Regions from separate parts of the Homo sapiens genome. Here region 1 is linked to region 2. The links are contacts of gene promoters, found by promoter capture Hi-C in blood cells and fetal thymus (Javierre and others, 2016). All regions are on one chromosome and are shown on one strand. Each heading gives the region's core, a stretch centred on a gene start or on the middle of the fragment in contact. The rest is flanking DNA. Distances are from core to core; before and after follow the strand shown.

Evidence for each region. The method cuts DNA at HindIII sites, captures the fragments that hold promoters and counts their contacts. A CHiCAGO score of 5 or more calls a contact.
Region 1: a contact is called between a fragment that was not itself captured here and the fragment with the promoter of AMOT in region 2, in 1 of 17 cell types (activated CD4 T cells). The highest score is 6.1, in activated CD4 T cells.

What each region holds. Positions count from the first base shown.
Region 1 is chrX:112,635,044-112,640,616 of GRCh38, reverse strand. The region is part of intron 3 of LHFPL1 (LHFPL tetraspan subfamily member 1); the gene reads left to right. Among named protein-coding and RNA genes, the nearest start is that of LHFPL1, 42 kb to the left of the region's middle. The HindIII fragment of the contact is 1,635 bases long and covers 1,947-3,581 here.
Region 2 is chrX:112,837,174-112,843,625 of GRCh38, reverse strand. AMOT (angiomotin) reads left to right here and starts at 2,795. Exons shown (of 14, transcript NM_001113490.2): 1 at 2,795-3,174. It overlaps LOC107985651 (a long non-coding RNA gene), which reads right to left and starts at 1,900. Exons shown (of 3, transcript XR_001755993.2): 1 at 1,758-1,900. RefSeq lists a silencer at 1,950-2,289. The HindIII fragment of the contact is 13,608 bases long and covers 1-6,452 here.

The DNA of each region.
Region 1 (5,573 bases), core at 1,515-4,014, 200 kb after region 2:
GCACATCAACGCCTTTATCTATCTCCCATCCTGTGGACAAACTGATGTTTCTAAAATGCAAATCTGATGTCATTATCCTTCTTTAGCAGTGGTTCCCCATTGCCTTCAGGATAAAGTCCAGATTCTTTAGCAAGGCCTACAGGGACTCTGGCTATCACTTCCATCACCACCCTGTCTTCTTCTCTTGCCCAGCCACCTCGAAAATACCATGTTCCTCCACCCCTTTGCAACTTTGCATGTGTTACTCCCTTTGCTGGGAATGCCCTTCTTCCCTTCCTTACCTAGCTAACTTCTTATTTTTCCCTGAAAACTCCCCAGCTCCTTTCAACTGGATTTGATATCTCTCACCTATATCCTTGTGGCAGTCCATATCGGAGCGCTTGTCACACTAATAGTCTATTTCCTTGTCCCGTTTCTGCTTCTGGCTCCCTTTCACTCATCTAGTTTGTTGATCTTACCTATGAGAAAACAATATGTTTACAGAGCTTACTATAGTGACTGGCATATAGAAACATTTAACCAATATTAGCTATTACTATTCCAGTAACTGACTTATTTAGCTGAGAAAGTTCAAGTGGAAGCAAGCAGAGGACTACTGAGCAGATGTTAGGGGAGAGGAACCAATTTCCTAGAGGCTAAGTGTCCTCAAGAGCTAGCGCTGAATCGAATACATCCAATATTTGGTCAGATGGGTTTTAACCCGTCTCCTTGAGGAGAGCGCCCAAAGCTCTTCTGAGAATCTGCTCCAGGTGTAGCTGACAGGCTGTATAAAAGGCAACACGGGGTGACCCAGAAGTGTTTTTCAGAGGCAGCTAAAGGTAAATCTGGAGAAAGACCTAGAAGCACAATTTAACTTGGCCTGAGACATGGAAGATGAGCAGAGTAGCTAAAACTCAGGATAGCTATATGAAAAGTGATATAAATAAGCAATACAGGTTGGCAAAACATGAGGAAAGGTCGGAAGCTAATGCTCAATAGTGGCGAGGAAGATTTTAATCGAAGGACTCAATTTGTTCGGCAGAAGTGTGTGAGAGAGAAAAGAAAAATCAGCCAAATCAGGGCATTTCTGTCGTCATGAGGACTTGGCTCTTCTTTGAGTACTCCCATGGACTTTCTAGCAAGTGTCCTGGTCTTCCCTTACCCTTTGGAACATTGGGTTGAACCGTGATGAAGTTGAAAACCCAGAATGTCCTACCCCTCCAGCAGACCTGACTGGACCAAAAAGTCAGTGGCTACTCACAATAACATATTTACCTGAACAACTGAAGTTTTCAGTGGGTTGTTTTTTATTCTTCTTCTCTGGCAAAGGAGCCTGGCAGGCTTCTGGAATCTTCAGTAGGTTCTGGGCCTCCAATCTGGGCTGCTGTTGACACTCACGCCCAGCTTGGAGAGTGAGAAGAGAGATGTTCTCATAGCTTTGGCTGTCTTTTTACTGGGGGCCGGGGTGGGGGTGGTAGGGTGTTTGGCAATTGCTCTTGAATTCGTTGGCTTTGCTTTATCTTTGTGGATTATTCATCTGTGTTTGCTGAACCTAGCAGAGAAAGTTCTCTGTTCATTTAGCTTGGCTGCATTAAAAATGTTTTTATGTTGCTACCTATAAAGACCCTAAAGTCAGCAGTATGTCTCTGAATAGATGGGACCACCAGCTCCTTCCAAACCCCTACTTTTCTTGCTAACATAAAATTCAGGTCTTCATGGCAAAAATGCATTGAGTCAGCAAATAGCAACCACCCCTCCCTTACCCTACCATGTGTACCAAACGGTAGTTTGGGAGATGGGTTGTTACCTGGTTTCATGACTTTAGATGGTGCCACAATGATGAGAAGAACAGCTGGCTTTCCTGAACTGTGTTTATTATTTCCTGAACTTGTTTATTATTTCCTGAACTTGTTTTATTATTTTCAGAAAAAAATAATACCCTCAATAGGAAGAGGTCTGTAAAAGCTTAACCCTCCCCAGCCATCAGTCTCCATGTGCCATGATCTCTATGTCTAGTGTTCTAATCTTCCACCCACCCCATCAACTCTCCTTTAGTATCTCTATTGTTCTAATCTTCCACCCACCCCATTGATTCTCCTTTAGTCCCTTTCTCTTCTTTGATTTCTCTCTATTCCTTCCCCTCACACCCTACTCTATCAAATTCCAAAGGATTCCTAGGTGCTTCTCTGTAGCTGAGGTTTTTGTCCTCAGGGCCACTATAGGCTACCTGGCTTGATATGTGGAAGCCTGTGAAAGCCATCAAGGCCCCCAGGTCACTCCCAGGCAGATTTCTCTGTATATCTGTCCTGCTCCTCTACACTGGGTGGTGAAGTTGAGGATGATATGCAGGTTCCCATTTTAGGTTCTTCTCTATCCTTGGTGTCATTCCTTCCCTTCTTTTGCCTATCTAAGGCCAGGGCAGTGTCTCTTAAACTTCCTGATTATTGGAGTATATTAGACGAAAAAACAAATGCTAATATTGTTCTCTTTGCCCCTTACCTGAAACACCCTCCAGTCTTCTAATTCCAATAATTCCTAGAATTTGGATCTTATCTTTCTGGTGGAATACAATCTACACCCTTGAACTATTCACATTGTCCAAATGGATTTTTCCCTTCTTGCCTGACCCTGAAACTCCAAACCACTTCACAATTCTTACCCCATCTTCATGAGCCTCTCCCCTGCCACACCAATATCCAACACTTCTTACCATAATCCGGGGTCCTAGCATGCTTGTTTTTTCCTTCTACAGTAGCAGCTCTCAGAACATGACTGTTGGCAACACTTGTGCGAAATTAAATCTTCATATATCTGAAGGTTCCATTACATTTCATCTAGCCCTATTCAGTTTTGGAGGTGTTAGTTGTCATTATGGGCTTGCTATATCCCTGCTTCCCTGACTCTTCCTCCAACCTTTCAGGAGCCTGGAATTTCATCAGATGATTCTCTGAAAGAGAAGACTCAACTCACTCAAAAGACAGACTTACCTCATTCTCTTTTTATGCCCTTTCTTTTCAACATTGTTTCCTTCTTCCTCCAAAGAGAACTCCTTTTTTGGATTCACTCTCCAGCATTCTTGGCTTCTAAGCTGGCATTCTGCACATGCTCCCTGAATGGGGGAGCCACTCTATCAGATTCTGACTCACTCCGGTCCATAATTTTGATGCCCACAGCAATGCTAGATCCCACCACAAGCATTGGTTTGGGGCTAACTCCCCATAGCTCATCATGACCCATTGACAGCTAGCCAGACACCACAACCCTGAAGGGCATAGGACTGCGGCTCTAGGGAGGGTGGTCAGTTTAAGTGGCCGCCAGTGACAATTTATCTCTAAACAGTGAGCTGTAAAACATAACATCGTGCTGAATCAAAGGAAACAGAGTCAAATTCCAATCCAATTTGATGTGCAACTTGGAATAAAAGCAACGTGTCTTGATTTAAATGTCAGGCCCACTGCTGAGTGATGATTTAATAACTTGTATGAGAGATTCTGTCACAGCAAATTCAACACTGGAATTCAGTGACTCACAGATAGAGTGTTAGAAATGATACAGAAGAGCACAAAAAGGAATAGGCTTATCTCAGGGCTCATCCAGAAGCTTTGCATAAAGCTCATTTGCAGTTAGAACCTCTTTTCTCCCCCTATCCTGCCACCGATCCTTCTCTTCACAGACACCCATGCATGGATATAGAGAAAATTTCTAGGTGTGATGTCATCTCCCTGCAGTATCTTCTAAGGACACAGACTTTTAAACAATTCTAGCGTGGAAGTAGAGTCAGTGCATTTAATCTGAAGGCAAGGAAGCAGTTAGTTTGGTGTTTCTCAAGGGACTTTAAGGACGCATCTGGTCTTAATGTGACGTCTTTAGCCAGGTACTTAATTATTTTTCCACATTTTAAGGGTTAAAGAGCTGAGACCTGGTGGAGTTAAAACATTTATTCAAATATTTATCCTGTCTCCTTACTCCCAGGGAATCAGTGCTTCCTCCTCAATACCTTGTGAGATCTCTCCCCTTGAGCTTCCCTTGCCTTCCATGGGGTAACATACTAGAATGCTCAAGACTGACCATGCCTCAGTCCCAGTCTGCTTCCCAGGTCAAGAAGGAACCATGCATGGCCGTTCTTAAGGGAGGAAATTCCATTCTGTTGGGCTAATCTTTTAGTCATCAAGATTTATTTTGAATAGAATTTAAAGTATAAATATCTGGTGTTTGTCTACATGAGGATTGCTCAACGTAGACAATATCGACACTTTTTGGCCAGATCATTTTTTGTTGTGGAGAACTCTTTTATGTATTGTTGGATGTGTAGCAGTGTCCGTGACCTCTGGTAACTCTCTCTGTCTATATCCTCCATTTGCCTCCAATCTATTTGACACAGACCTTTCAGGTTAATATTTCCAGGCAATACCTCTAACTTAGTGGTTCTCAATAGAAAGCAACCTCCCCTCATACCGGGGGACATCTGGCAATGTCTGGTGACATTTTTGGTTTTCACAACTTGGTGGGGAGGAAGAATAAGTTGCTATAGACATATAGTGGGTAGAAGCCAGGGTGTTACAGTGTACAGGAAAACCGCCCCCTGCCCCTGCCCCCACACCAAGTAAATGTCCAACCCAAAATGTCAATAGCGCCAAGGTCGAGAAACCTTGCTCTAGCGTATCGTTCCCTGCTCAGAAACTTTCCATTGTTTCACACTGCTTGTAGGAAAGATGACAGATTTCATGGCCTCTCCTGGTGTAGATTCAGTTTATTATTTTGTCAACTATAGCTCCTTTTTGGAAACAGCTCTGAATGTTATGCTTTCTCTGAAACATGTCATGTGCTTTCTCACTCACATAACTTTGCTCACGCCAACCACTCCCTCTGCCTAGAATGCCCACTTCCTACTACTAAAGCCAAGATGAAATGTAGCATCTACAAAGGCTTACCTGAGCTCAAATTTTCCCAGCTGCAAATAATTCCTCCTTCCCTGGATATTCCTATAGTATTTTACAAATATATCTCTTAAAGCACTTATCATATTCATACTACAATAGAAAATATGATCTGGAAGGGGCTTTTAGGATTCTCTTCAGTAAATCCTTCCACTGAAAGTAAAGGAAACTGAGGTCCAGAAAGGTGAAGTAATTGGCCGAAGGCATTGTATATTCTCGCAAGACTTGGACTGTAGTAATTTGTGTTCTTGGTTTCATTCTCCTAGCATGGTTGAAATGGATAATCATGAACTTTGAGTTAGGTCTGGCAGTCAAATTGCAATTCTGACACTTATAAGTGGGCCAAGTCATTTACCTTTCTGAAACTCAGTTCCCTGAGCAGTAAATGGAAATAATCATGGCTGTTATGAGAATTAAATGAGATTGTGTATTAAAAATGCCTAGCATATAGTCGGTACTCAATACATGTTTGTCAGATGAAAATAAGGATCAATAGTAGTTTAAATAATGGGATTTGGGAATGGATGATGGTCCATAGGACTTCACTAAAAGGCAACAAGAGGCAAAATATGGCAACTCATTGCCACCTGCTCCCTACTTTTGCACCCTTCCATAGACGATTTCCTCAGTGGGCCATCAGATCAGCATGCAAGTTTT
Region 2 (6,452 bases), core at 1,546-4,045:
TTTTGACGGAGTCTCGCTCTGTCACCCAGGCTGGAGCGCAGTGGCCGATCTCAGCTCACTGCAACCTCCGCCTCCCAGGTTCAAGTAATTATCCTGTCTCAGCCTCCCGAGTAGCTGGAGCTCAGTGGCTGATCTCAGCTCACTGCAACCTCCGCCTCCCAGGTTCAAGTAATTATCCTGTCTCAGCCTCCCGAGTACCTGCTACTACAGGCGCATGCCACCACGTGCAGCTAATTTTTGTATTTTTAGTAGAGAAGGGGTTTCACCATATTGATCAGGCTGGTCTTGAACACCTGATCTCAAGTGATCCACCCGCCTCAGCCTCCCAAAGTGCTGGGATTACAGGTGTGAGCCACCGTGCCCAGCCCAGTACCGTTTTATCTGAATTCTTCCATGTGCATGTTTAACTTTTTTCACTTGGACAGCATTGATTTTAACAAATATCCTTTTGCCTCTGTGATTGGTAGTAGTCCTGCAGCATATACCCGCCCCCCCACATCTAGCTCTCCTGTCCACTCCAAATAACAAGGCTGAAATAACCTTTCCTTGCTTCACAAACCAGGTGTCTCCATATTTTGAACATTCAAAAACTCACTTTCTCCATGAAAAATCACCCAAATAACCTCACTTCATACATAAACAGAATCATAACGAGAATCATTTTGTGCACACTCCTGCTTCTGAATCTTTCCACAGCTCCTAGCAGAGCATGCTGCACACTCCATGACATGCAATAGTCCACTACTTTTCCTGCAGAGTTGGATTCTGAGCCCCTGTTTACTGTGTGATAGTGTTTCCTTTAAGCACACTTCCTCTTGCATGCCTTGATCCATGGCCCCCCAGATGGCTCCCATTAGGCAGGCTTGAATTGGATGTCACTCTTTCATTGGCATGAGCCATTATAATGGCCTTGCGCTGTCAAGGCGTTTACATTTAGGCTTGCTTCCTACTTGAAATGTTTTCTAGGAAATATGGATCTGTAGAGAATGGTGGTTTCCATGGTAAATGTTCCTTCATATTTGTTTTCTTAAGTTCACTTCGGAGATACACAGCATGATTTCCTCTTTCAGTACCAGAACCACAATAGCTTTAAGTTGTCATGAAATTGTAGAACTTTAAAAAAGAAATCTCACCCACCCTGCTTAGAAAAGGGGTAATTTATTATTCTAACTGCAGGGAGTCAACTTCATATCCACCCCCAAAATTGTAGGAAAAGAGTTGACTTTTTAAAATAAAGCCACAAAACCTACACGACCTTGGATGTAAATGCTTAAAACAGATGAGCAAAATATTGATCCTCTAACACATCTAAGACTCTCCATTATGTTTCACACACAAGTAGGAACACATACATGTGTGGAGTGCTTTATAGTTTTCACACACATTTTATTTTCATACCAGTGCCTTTAAGTTAATAGGGCATGTCTTACAGCATTTACTTACAGGTAGAAAAATTAAGGCTGAGAAGTTAAGCCACTTAACAGAAGTCATACAATTAGCTAGTAAGTGCCAGGGCCCCAAATGAATTCTTCCTTTGGTTCCAAATTCCATGTTATTTTGCTACCCTGACACTGTTTCTTTGTGCCTTCGTTTTTCTAGATGTAAAATGGTAGATTTTCCGTGTCCCAGGATGCTGTTCTCAACCCTCTCGTTTTTAACCAATGTCAGCTTTTTTCACAGTCAGCAGAACACCACAATGACACTTCATGTACTTTCCCCCCTCCTGATTTAATAAACTAAGGGGGAAGAAAAGTTACCTATTCGCAGAAAGCTGGACAGTGCCATAAACATAAAGGCGTACCAGAGTCGGCCGACACACTGTTGCACTCTTTTATGAGACTGAGAAATAAAGCGTCTCATCTTTCTCTTGCCAGCAGTAGCTGGGGTAGAACATAGAACTACACAATAGCCTCTTGTTTAGTTTTATTAATTTTGAGGGCGGGTGGGACAAAGGGATCAGACTGGCGACTCCAGGGCCCAATCGCAAGCGTATACTAGGCCAGGCTGGGCCAACCGGTAGCTGCAAAAGAATGGTGGGCGGGACTTACGCTTCAGGGACGCGCTCCGCCCAGGCCGGCGCTCCCAGCCCGCCCAGGGGCGGAGCCTCCGCGGAGCGCCGCCCGCGACCCCTCCTCCCTCGCCCCTCAGCTTCTGCGGCCCGCCAACGGGAGGGGGGCAAGCGCCCGGGGCGGGGGAGCGGAGGAAGAAAGGAGGGTGTCTCGCAGAGCTGTGACCTGGGTGGGGGCCTGCTGGTAATAGGAAGCAAGAGGGGAAGGAAAACGAAGGAGCGCTTCTCCTTCCTGCATTATTTTAAGCAGGCTTTGGTGGAAGCTGCTTTTCAGCATTTCTATTATTTGTTTTTCTTCCTCCCGCAGTGGGGCGGGGAGCTGCACTGGCTCTCCCACGCGTCTATGCCGCGCTGTTGCCGCAGATTATTATTGTAGTCTTTTGCAAAACCCTTTCCTTCTTCCCAGCCAGTCCCCGCGCAGACTCTCACGGCTACGGCAACCGAGTCGTGCCCCTCTAGTGGGAAGGCGAGAGCGAGGGTCCCTTGCTTTCGCCCGAGCTCCCGGACCCCGCGGTTCAATTGTTTGAAACTTCCACGCCCCCCGGCCCCGCCTCTCTTCCGCGCTCCCCTCACTCCTCACTTCCAGGGTCCAGGCAGGCTCCCGCCCTTCTTTCCCCGCCCTCTACTCCGCCTTCCTCCCTCGTCCACCCCTCCCGCCGCCCTGCTCCGGGGCGGTCCTAGCCGCTCACCGCAAGAAGAAAAGCCACCCGTTCGTCCCCCTCCCCTACCTCCCATCCTTTGCCCAGGAGCTGCCTTGGCAGTCACGCCCCTTCCTTCCGAGGAGCTTTCTGGCTGCCTAAACTGGTAGACCCCCTGAATTACTCCTCCATCTCCGCTCTCTTTCGCCTCCTCTTCTCTTAGTTCTCTCCGCCTCCCCCTCAACTACCACCACCTCCAGTCAGTCTCGCCTCCGGCTATCCGCTGCTCCACCCTCTGGCCCGGTATCCTGCCTGTCCGCTGCCACCAAGGAGAGCCCGGACGGAGCAGCGAGGAGGGGAGCAGCCGGGAGTTGGGGCTTCCCCCCTGCCCATCCCTGGCCGCTGGCCCGGGACCGAAGCCACTTGAGCGAGCAGAGAGTCGTCACCTTGTCTTCTTTGCCTTCAGGGGTAGGAGACGCGTGGTTACTTTTCGCGGGGAACTGGGGCAGGAATCCATGGTGGCATGAACTTGGTCGTGCCCTCGGCGTGAGTGAATCGATCTAGGCGCGTGTGGGAATGCCCGTGTGTTCTACTTTCTTTGCAGCTCGCCATGAGTTTTTTTGGATGTGCAGCAAGTTAAATCGGTTAGAGTGTGCGCTGCTTTCCCGTCCTACTTCGGTGAGGAGATGCTAGTGGGTACCACTACTAGATGGTACTTTTACTTCTTTACCTCCTGGGGTTCTTGTGGGTCTCTAGGTAATTAATCACATTGAGGAGCTAAAGACCCGAGGGAAGCTGAAATCTACATTTAGCCCAGCATGCATGTCAGTGCTTATCTCAGATAACTAGATAGGTTTCTGCTAAGTGCTTAGGCTTGGGGTGGGGACTCACACTCCCTGAGGCGGGAGCAGGAGGGGTAGGACCGTGAATTCTTGAAGTTTTAAAGTCTGTGTAATCTAAAACAAGGCTACTCTTTGAGATGTGTGGTGGTGGTGGTAGTGCTTGTGGTGGTAGTGATAGTGGTGGTGAGGAGGGAGTTGCCCCTATCTGCTTTAGAAGATCCAAAGATGTTAGTAAATAGTTTTGGGGGATCTTGAGGGTGTCTTGAGGGTCCAAGCCTGGGCCACTGCACATTGGTGCTTCAACAGTAAGATGGGCTTCATGGGTTTGTGAAAATGAAGAGAAAGAAAAGGGGGAGGGAAAATAACAGTCTTTAATAGACTGTGAGCAGTTCCTGGTAGATTGCCACTAATAATAATATAATAATTTGCATAAAGGGACTAAGTAGAATTAAATGAGCAAGGAAAGAGAAAGTTGGTGAGAAACAGCATTTTCAATCTCTAGTGTATGTTTTAGAACGAACTTTTCAACAACCTGGGATGTTTAGTGCATGAAGTTCTCCTCCCTCCCCGCCATGAAGAGTGGACGTTGGGAGGCAGTTTAAAACTTTTATGAATATAACCCTCTTCTCCCATTCAGAGAAGAAGATAATTAGTCACCATAATCTTCAATGATGAAGGGCTAAGGATATTTAAGTCTCCTTGAGCTAGGCTTTGTGAAAAGTTCTTTCTCAGGCCAGCCTTTGTGAAGCCTTCTCAGTTAGACCTTTCAGCACCCTCATTTAGTAGCTAAGAATAGTTTGAAATGCCATTTTGGATGTGGTATACATTTTCATCCATCTCCCACCTATCTTCAATTGGACAAGTGCGTCAAGCCTGTAAGTGATGGTGTTCAAAGACTTATTACTGAGATGTCCTTAACCCATTGCTTATTTGGGAACACATTATTAACATACATTTTAAAATAACTTTGGTTGATTTTAATGAGTGAAAGGAAAGTAGGAAGGTAGAGAAGGGCGACAATTTTAAAGGCTATCCTGTTTCAGATCAGCTGGGAGGGAAAAGCTGGCCTGACCAAACTACATTTTATAACTGGCCTGGGACATTTTAACAGCCAGGTGGTTGTAGAGTAGTTGCCTCTATTTACAGATGATAACTAAGGTTCCAACTATTCTGTATGGGTTTATCCGGCGTCATTGACAGACACTTTCTGGCACTACATCATACTTCATTTTAAATTACTTCTTTCCTTGGAAAAGTTCGTGGCTTTGTAAAATTGTAAGTGCTTTTTCTACCTTCACAGTCTAGATGTGAAGTAAACCTCTGACCACAATTGTATGTGGAGTCACTTTTACATGAAATTTGTGGATCTGTTTACCTATTTAAAAGATTTTAGAAAGGGAATTTTAATAATTCATAGTCAATGCAGTTTTGGATTTGGAAATTAAAATTTCATTTCTGGTTTATGAAGTTTGATTTATTAGACTAATTCCCAACAAGGACATTTGTAGAGTTGCTTTTTCTTTCTGAGGTTTTGTAAAGACTGCATCAGACTCTAGAATGCTTTAAGAATAGCCTAATCAGAAGGCAGGGGGATGGATACTATGACCTTGAGGTCCCATTGAGTGCCAGAATTCTAAGTGGGTACATCTGCTTCTGTGCCTCTCCCAAGAGCCCTCTCCCAGGGCCTGCGCCTTCTTTAAAAGGGTGTCTTTGTAATTAAGCGGCCCTTCTTCCCCATCCCCCTTTCTTCCTTTGATCCAGCTTTTTAAGGCCTTTTTTTCCATTTGGAGACAAGAGGGGTTTCTCACACTTTCCTGTTCCCCTCTTAACGCTTCTTTTCCTTTACCCCAGAAAAGTCCCCTGAAGTTCTCAGGATGGTTAGAAGTTGTTTTGTTTTGTTTGGGGCGTGGGGGTGGAGTGGGGGAGTTGTTACCAATGAGGAGGAATAGAGGATATATTCCCTCTTGGGAAATGCTTGTGACCAGGTAGCCTCCTCCATGGAGACTGAGCATTTGGAATGCATGAGAACAGTCTATTCTTGGGGACTGTCTGGTAGAAATTGTCCTTTGCACCCATTAAGCCCAGCTTAAACACTGAAAGGGGTGGGGAGAGGTGTGTGTGGTCGTACTGGAGCCTTTTAGGATGGTAAATGGGTAAATGTTTCCAAATCTCCTATTACATCATCTCTTTCTCCCATGGATTCAGTAGGTTTAGTGATCTGCTTGACAAGTTAATTAGCTGGGGACTAAACCAATTTGTTTAGAATTGTGATCCATTGATTTCCTGTCCCCAGGAATTTTTGTTGGTGTTTTACTATGATGTGTTGTCTTTAGTCTTACTTACTTTTCCCTCCTTGCTGCCTTTTGTGGACTTTGGTCCAAATTCTAGGGTTCCACCCCCAAGTCAAAGGTTAGAATTTTGTCCCAGGAACTAAGGGGGTATTAAACAGGCTGGCCATACTGCATTACTCTCCTCCATGGTGGGCTTCTGACCCCTTTTAACCCAGAGAAAGGAGGGAAGTCGCCCCTTCCACACACAACACACACAATCTGAACAAAAAAAAAGAAAAAGAAAAAGAAAGAAAGAAAATAGGAGGTCATTTGCTTTATAAAAGAATCCACAACAGGTTTTCTTTGTAAGTACTAGCTTTCCTAGTTAGTGCCTTTAAACTATGACTTGATATATAAAAATTCACTCTAACTGGGCCTTCTCGGAAGCATATTTATTGCATAAAGGAATACATAAGAATTTGTAATGATTATCGCTTAAATTAAGTGAGGCCATTATTTGGCCTTTGAAATCTTTTTGTTATATGGAATGGAGTTAGTTAATTGTCTAAATCATTCTGGCTTGTAATAATGCTGGCCACGTTAGCTCTGGCCTACAACTGCTTGCAGAAGAAAG